2 separate regions of the Homo sapiens genome follow, and region 2 is linked to region 1. Evidence: promoter capture Hi-C in 16 types of primary human blood cells and fetal thymus (Javierre and others, 2016). All regions are on one chromosome and are shown on one strand. The core of a region is centred on a gene start or on the middle of the fragment in contact, and the rest is flanking DNA. Distances in the headings are between cores, read along the strand shown. Region 1 holds the start of LINGO1 (leucine rich repeat and Ig domain containing 1). Region 2 overlaps PEAK1 (pseudopodium enriched atypical kinase 1).

Region 1 (3,518 bases), core at 610-3,109:
CTCACTGACACTCTGCGCTGGATCTGGGGAAGCCCCAGGCTCTCTGCCGCCTGGGTGTCCCGGCTCATTGCTCCCTGGGCATGGGAGGCACCAGTGCTGAAGCCACTGGCATAATGACCAACAGGGTTGAGCCCAGAGCCGCGGGCCAGGCTGGGCTATGCGCCCTCTGGCTGCCCAAACCAAGCAGAGGACTGAGGGAGGGCTGGGCGAGCAGGAAGGGGCTGTCCAGATGCCACAGCCCCTACCTCAGGGCCTCCTGCACTCCCACCCGCTCAGGGCAGAGCTCTTCCCATCCTCTCAGGCCCCCTTCTGCCCCACCCCAACCCCAAGGCCTCTGAGAACAAAGAGGAGGTGCAGGCACAGTCAGGCTGGACCAGGCTGGGCTGCGACCCCAGCAGGAACCGGGAGGGGCTGCCCACTGGCCTGGCCCCACCCCTCCTTCTCAAAGTGGGATCCGCCCGGAGGGTCACATCTCCTGGCATGCCTTGAGAGCAGAGAGCCCACAGCCCACCCCGAAAAGGGTGTGAGGGGGAGCAGGAGGCTCCCTCCTTACCTCCCTCTTCTCAGCTGGTTCCCACCTCCCACCCGCTCTGCCTTAGAATGAAAAGTGGGGCAAGAGGAGGTGAGAAGCCCGGGCTGAACGCAGACAAAGGGGAGGCCCCTAAAGCGTTCCTGGGCGCTCCCGGTCCCCAACTCCCTTCCTTCCACTCTCCCTACTCCCCATCTCCTTTTCACTGGGCAGGAGCTGGAAAGGGGCGATGCTTGTGTGTGGTGGGGAGCTGCCATCCAGGCTGGAGCTTGTGGAGAAACCCAGCCCCTGACCTGTGTCCACCAGCTAGGGAGTGTCTGGTGCTGGTGGGGGCTGCCTGGGGGTACCTGGGGTCCACGAAGGGAGGTACCCACCCAGGGCTGAGCAGGGGGCTTACCCTCTAGAGTGACCAATACTCAGAATGGGAGGGGGGACAGGAAGGGGAGACCAGAGCAGGTCTGGGACACCCGTGGGGGCCCCTCCCCAGCTCCAGGCTCCCAGCTTACAAACCCGGAATTTGTTGGGGTTGGAGAGAGGGGAGGTGGAAAAGGAAGAATTTTCATTTCTGAGGCTTGAGGGGAAATCAGGCCTATGACCCCAAAGGAGGTCTGGGTGGCACCGAGGTGCCCTGCAACCCCAGGAGGGCGCAGCCAGGGCCGATGGCGGCCCCCAGGGGCACTCGCCGCGGGGCTGCCCGCTCGGGGCTCGGCCGCGGCCGCCTGGCTCACCTGCATCTCGGGCGCGCCTTCGGTCCGCTCGGCTCGGTCACCAATCGCATGTCTCTCCAGCCGGCCCGACCAGGCCCCAGCCCCTGCCCAGCCCCCTCCTCCGTTTCCTCCTCCTCCGACACCTCCGCCCGGCAGTCCGCGCGCCCTCGCGGGGCTGGCTGTCCGTCTGTCCGCCCCGCGCGGGCGGGAGCCGAGCCGGAGCCGGGGCCGGGGCTCGGGAGTGGGGAGGCGGGAGGCCGCGGCCCCGGCGGGCGGATGGGCGGGCGCGCTCAGGCCGCGGGACAGGGGCTGCGCGAGCCTGCTTCTGCCCCCTGGGCCGGCCCGGAGCCGCCGCCGCCGCCTCTGCCGCTGGGGCCGGGGTCGAGGCCGGGCGCGCTCCGCCGCGGGGCCGGGGCCGGCGGGCAGCGGCCGCGCATGCTGCTCGGCGCCCCGCGTCGGGAGAGGGGCCGGAGCGGCGCGGGTGGGGACTCCGCGCCCTCCGGGGCCGGGACCAGGACCCACCGCCGCCGCCGCCGCCTGCGCTGTCGCCCGCCGCCCGCTCCGGCTCCCGCGCCGGCTCCCGCTCGGGCTCCGCGCTCTGCAGCGGCGCGGGGAGGGAGCACTAGGAGCGAGCCAGGGAGGGAGGAGGGATCGAGGGAGGAGGGAGCGAGTGAGCCGCGGGAGCCGGGCGGGGGAGGAGAAGGCGCGGCCGCAAAACCTGGTGATGGTGGTGGTGGGGTGGGGGGTGGTTCGTCTCCTTTCAGCGGAGGGGGCGGAGAGCGAGGGGCGCCCCAGCCGCTGCCCTGCACGCTTAGGGCAGCGAAACAGGCAGGGGTGCGCAGGCGAGGGGCGCACCAGCCAGGCGCTCCAGCTCTGCACACGGCCGCGCCCCTCCGGGTCCGGGGCTCTGGGCGAGTCCCGGGCCAGCCGGGTGTCGGGGAGTCCGGCGTGCGGTCCTCCCTGGGTGTATGCGCGCACACCGTTGTGTGTGATTTTTGTGTTGCCACATGCGTGTGCATGTGAGCGCGCGAGTGTGTTTACACGTGTTAACTGGGCTGTGGACGAACACACGCACGAGGACGGACAGGGCTCCCTACACGAACAGGGTTGTTTGGAGGGCGGCATGGGGAGGCCGACCGGGAGCCCCCGTCCTGGCCCTGTCCCCTCCTCTCGAAAGTCCGCGAGGCTAGAGGGCCCACATTCTAGCGCGGGAGGGCGAGGCAGGCAGAATGGGAAGCTCCAGGGGACGGCGAGGAAGCCGCGCTGGCCCGGCAGCTCTACCCAGGAGCCGGGGTCCCCGCCCAGCCTGGCTTCCTGTCCAGCAGAGGGCGGCAGGCCTCTCTGGCCCGCTCCGTCCGGAGGCCCTGCACCCAGTGGCCAGCAGAGGGCAGCGCAGAGCCTCCGCCTGGGCTTGACTGTTCCCTCCTCCCGGAATGGTCCCGGGGATCCTCGGCTGGGGCCACAACTTCAGACGGGCCCAAGGAATGGGACCTCTCCTCGGAGATCCAGATCCTCCTTGATCCTCAGATACAGAAACTAGGCCAGCAGGGATGTCTTGGCAAAGCCTGCAGAGTAGGTTACCACCCTCAGGACCTCACCTTTTTCCCTATACTACCCCCTCCATCTCCTTGAAGCCAGACGCCCTTTACCACCAAGCCAGTTTTATTAGAATAACCATCAATGCTGACACCGCCCGGCACGGCCATCCCTCCTCCCCTGCTGGGAACAACCCATTAGCACATGAATACTCCTAATAGCTTGAGTCCACAGGGGCAGCTGAGGCTGGGGGAGGGGATCTAGCCCAAAGCCTCTCGGATTCTGGGGCAGACGCTGGAATCCCAGTTCCAGTGACACCCCCTCTCCCAGGAAGCCTGCGCAACATCATTGCAGAGATGCCTGGTTGCCACGGAGGGACCTCTCCCCACCCCCAACAGCACCTTGTTTCTCGCTGTTCAGCCTCACACACAGCCCAAAGGCTTGCACAGACCTTCTGTTCCAGCTGCACCATTTCTGGGTACTTCTCAGTCTCTCTGGCACACCGTTGCTCTGGACAGTCCTGTCTGGAGCACTTTCTCCTGTCTCCTATGTCTATGCCCATCCTCAACCTAGGCCTAGCTAGAGTCCCTCCTAGCAGGCGTCCATGCTATGCTCTACTGTGAACTGTACGTTCACCCTCCAGCAACTCTGGGGGAGGCACTATTGTTCCCCTGTGACAGAGGGAGGGAAGCCCAGGCCCAGAGAGGTTCCAGGCTCTGCCCATGGTCACACAGCCAGCAAGCCAC
Region 2 (3,550 bases), core at 741-3,240, 510 kb before region 1:
AGGAGGAGTATTGCTATACTTGCTGCTACAGAGCTAAGACCCACACACACTCAATGCTGTTACAACTATATTCAAAATAGATTAAGTGTTTAATATATAAAACGCTGTGTGGGCCCAAAGTACTCAGGACTCCATGTTGTAGGAATCTGCTATGAGAACTGTTGGGTAGGCCAGATAATTTACAGCTTGAATTGCTGCAAAAATGTTCACATGCCCAAGAAAGTGATTTTGGATCCTAGAAGAGAAATTCAAGAAGGTAACTGTGTAAGATTTCACCATTTTATTTGTGACTTGTACTCACCAAAGCTTTTCACTCTCCCACTCAGCATGTGTATCCAATGAAAATAACTTGTGTTCCTGAGCCAGTAATTTAGGCTGACAGAATGATGCCCAGGATGTTCACACTAGAGAAACTGAGGCACAGAGTAGTCCAATAACCAGCTCAGGGCCCACATTAGGAATTCAATTAACTTGAATTCCAACTTGTGATTCTCAACTATATCCTCTCACCTCATTAATTAAAGCCATGCTCCCTTTTCCCACCAGACAACTCATTTTGATTCCAGGTTTACACAAACATCCAAAACCTCTCCTTCCTAAATCAATTCCCAGTTGAGACTCAGGTGCTTCTGTATGCACTGAGCCTGAAACAAAACGGACACAAAACTAGGATGGCCATGAGTATGTGTAGTTGGCTGCTGATCAATCACTTTCTGTAAAGTTTCACTGTTAAAAATATTTATTTTGAATTATGAAAGTGGAAGTGGTTTCCCCTCTAGTTTTTTCCTCACCACTAAGCCAGTAATTAATTGTCTGTATATATAGTCTGAACTAGTTGTAAATTCCTACCAATCATAGTTGTTCCTGTAATGCTTTTTCATTTAGTATCTTGTTTTGTCAGCATCCACCCAAATGAGATAAACGGAGACTCTGGAGTCAAAAATGCAGTAAAAGATGTTGGTCTCCACAGTTCACCTCTACATTATTACAAGCTTTTAACAAGATTCTGGCATAGCCGGAAGAAAGGAAGCAGCCCCGCTTTTGTAACAGGGAAGTGTACATCTTTACTGAGTTTTGTGTGTTCTATCCTTGAGAACAAAGACTGGGACTACTTTAAAGATACCTACTATCCCAATTCTGGAACTGTTGGAAAATAACTAAAAAATTTATACTTTTTGCTTATGTGAAATTTTTAGCATCCTCTTCAAAGTAACTGCATCCAAATTTCCTCTGTGGTCTCGCATGGTAGTACTTTTTATAAAATGATCTCATAAGTGCAATGAAAAAACAATATCTCAGTGATACTAAGCCATAATTTTGCCAACTGTCCATCCTGATTCTAAGCAAAAGGCTGTCATTTTTCCATCAAGAAACAACACTGAGACACAGCAAGGTCAGTTTACTGCTTCAGGCATGAAATAATAGGAGAGGTTCTACCTAGGAGTCAGGAGGTAGCCTGCCACGAAGATGGTGTCCCCATGCAGAAGTGATTGTTCCTCTCTGGCCTTAGTTTCCCACTGTGTAGAATGGTGAAGGCCCTTCTAAAATTGGCTTTAGTCTACTATGAGGATATGAGGGATTAGTCTACTATGGATTTAGATATGAGGATTTAGTCTACTATGAGGATATGAGGATTATGTACTTGGTCAGTGCTTACCCAGATTCTTTGAAAGGGAAAAAGCAAGGTAGATTTTTATTTAGAGAACAGGGAAGTTAAGTTCAGGCTTAAGTTTATGTTAAGTTTTACTTTGCGAGCAGGAATATTTAAGTTAACGGCAGAAGGCCAGCCAATATATAGCCCACAGAGACAGACAATGCAATCTGGGTGGTGGCTCATCAAATGGGGAAGAGAGGATAAAAGAAGATATGGATGAGATGGAAAATGGGAGTTGAAAATTAAATATTGTTTGGAAATCAATTTGGCTCTTCTTTCACCAAAACATTTATTTAAAAAGTAGGCTGTGCTCACTGCCTCCACAGCTTCCTCTTCCTATTCGCTCTTTAACTCACTGTGTCTGGCATTCACCCCAATTATTACCAACATTGCATTTTCTTGAGGCTTACAAGACATTAAATTCTTGCCTTCTTCTGAGTCTTCATTCTGCACAAGCCCTCTGCAACCTTGGACTCTCTGGCCTGTAGGGCCCTGCCTTTTGCTACAGATTTTCCAATTGCTCCTGCTTTGGGTCACTTAGATGTGTGGGCCTTTTCCCACTTTGCAGACTCTTCCATTACAATCTCATGTAGTCCCACAGTTTCAACTAAATCAAGTCTATGACCACATTTCTAGGCTTGAGCTCTCTTCTGAGTACCAAACCCATATTTTTACCTGGTTCCTGGGGTTCTTTCAACTTGGCTGCCCTATGGGCATAACCCATTGAGATCTCATCTTTCTGGCTTTTCTGATTCATATTTCAACTAATGGCATCACCATTCTCTTGGAGGTTGTTCTACCTTGAAATTTTAGCATCACTGCCCTAATCCCATACTCACCAGACATGGTCTACTGCCTTCCTCAGCTCTTTAGCCATCTGCCCCTTCTTTTCCTTTGCCTTACATCAGGTCTCATTTTACCTGGACTACTGCAATAGCATAATGACTGGCTTCCTTGCTTCCAGTCCTTCTGACCTCTCTTACCATAGTTGTCATCCAAAATCTTATGTTATTTCTGTTTAAAAATACTTAGTGGCTTCCCACAAAACACAAAATAAAGTCTAACCTCTTAAGCTCATCACTCAAATCTCTAAATTTGTTCTCTAATCTCTCCGTAGCCTAATTTTCCACTATTCTCTCAATGTACTGCATTTACCACAAAGAATAGCAAAGTGGATACAAAAGGCCCTTTCTTATTGGCCCCAAGATATGTGTTAATAACTTATTTCATTCATTAATCTTCATTTATCTTTACATCTCTGCATACCACTCTGAACTTTCATTATAATCTGTTTTAAGAGCTATTATTTATGCCTTTGTCTTTCTTACTGGAATATAAGCTTCTTGAGGGCAAGGCCTTTGTTTCATTCATATGTATTTCTGTAAACTACAACAAATATCACAATGTTTTATACAGTAAACATTTTTTGAAGGGTCAAGAAATATTTATTGAATGCCAGCTATGGACATGATATTATAATAGATGCTAAGGATATAAGAATTAATAAGCCATGGTCCCCGCCATGGAAAAGGTCAAGTATAATAGTGGGGAGAGGGGAGAGGAAGCATGTTTTTGTTTAATTATACAACTGTCTCATGATAATGCAATGATCAAGAAATCCAGTAGGTATAGCGTGCAACATGTGCTCAGAAAATTAAAGTAGAAAATTCAGAGCTGGATTCTTTAAGAATACATAGGAGCTTTCTAAGTATGTGAAAAGGAAGGAATAACCAACTTTTACTAAATGCTTAACTTTGTGCCAAATGATGCTCTCAGCACTGTGTGTGTGTGTGTGTGTATGTGTGTGTGTGTGTATATATATCACCACATACATATTAACTTCTGTGATTTTTTACAATGGTTTTAAGAAGACCTGAAGTATTTTTTCCATTTTAC

Evidence for each region. The method cuts DNA at HindIII sites, captures the fragments that hold promoters and counts their contacts. A CHiCAGO score of 5 or more calls a contact.
Region 2: a contact is called between a fragment that was not itself captured here and the fragment with the promoter of LINGO1 in region 1, in 1 of 17 cell types (endothelial precursors). The highest score is 5.7, in endothelial precursors.

The regions. Positions count from the first base shown.
Region 1 is chr15:77,631,053-77,634,570 of GRCh38, forward strand. LINGO1 (leucine rich repeat and Ig domain containing 1) reads right to left here and starts at 1,860. Exons shown (of 2, transcript NM_032808.7): 1 at 1,258-1,860. The coding sequence starts at 1,263. RefSeq lists enhancers at 2,679-3,242, 2,684-2,813. The HindIII fragment of the contact is 14,548 bases long and covers 1-3,518 here.
Region 2 is chr15:77,122,046-77,125,595 of GRCh38, forward strand. All of the region lies in intron 9 of PEAK1 (pseudopodium enriched atypical kinase 1), which reads right to left. Among named protein-coding and RNA genes, the nearest start is that of TSPAN3, 53 kb to the left of the region's middle. The HindIII fragment of the contact is 2,001 bases long and covers 991-2,991 here.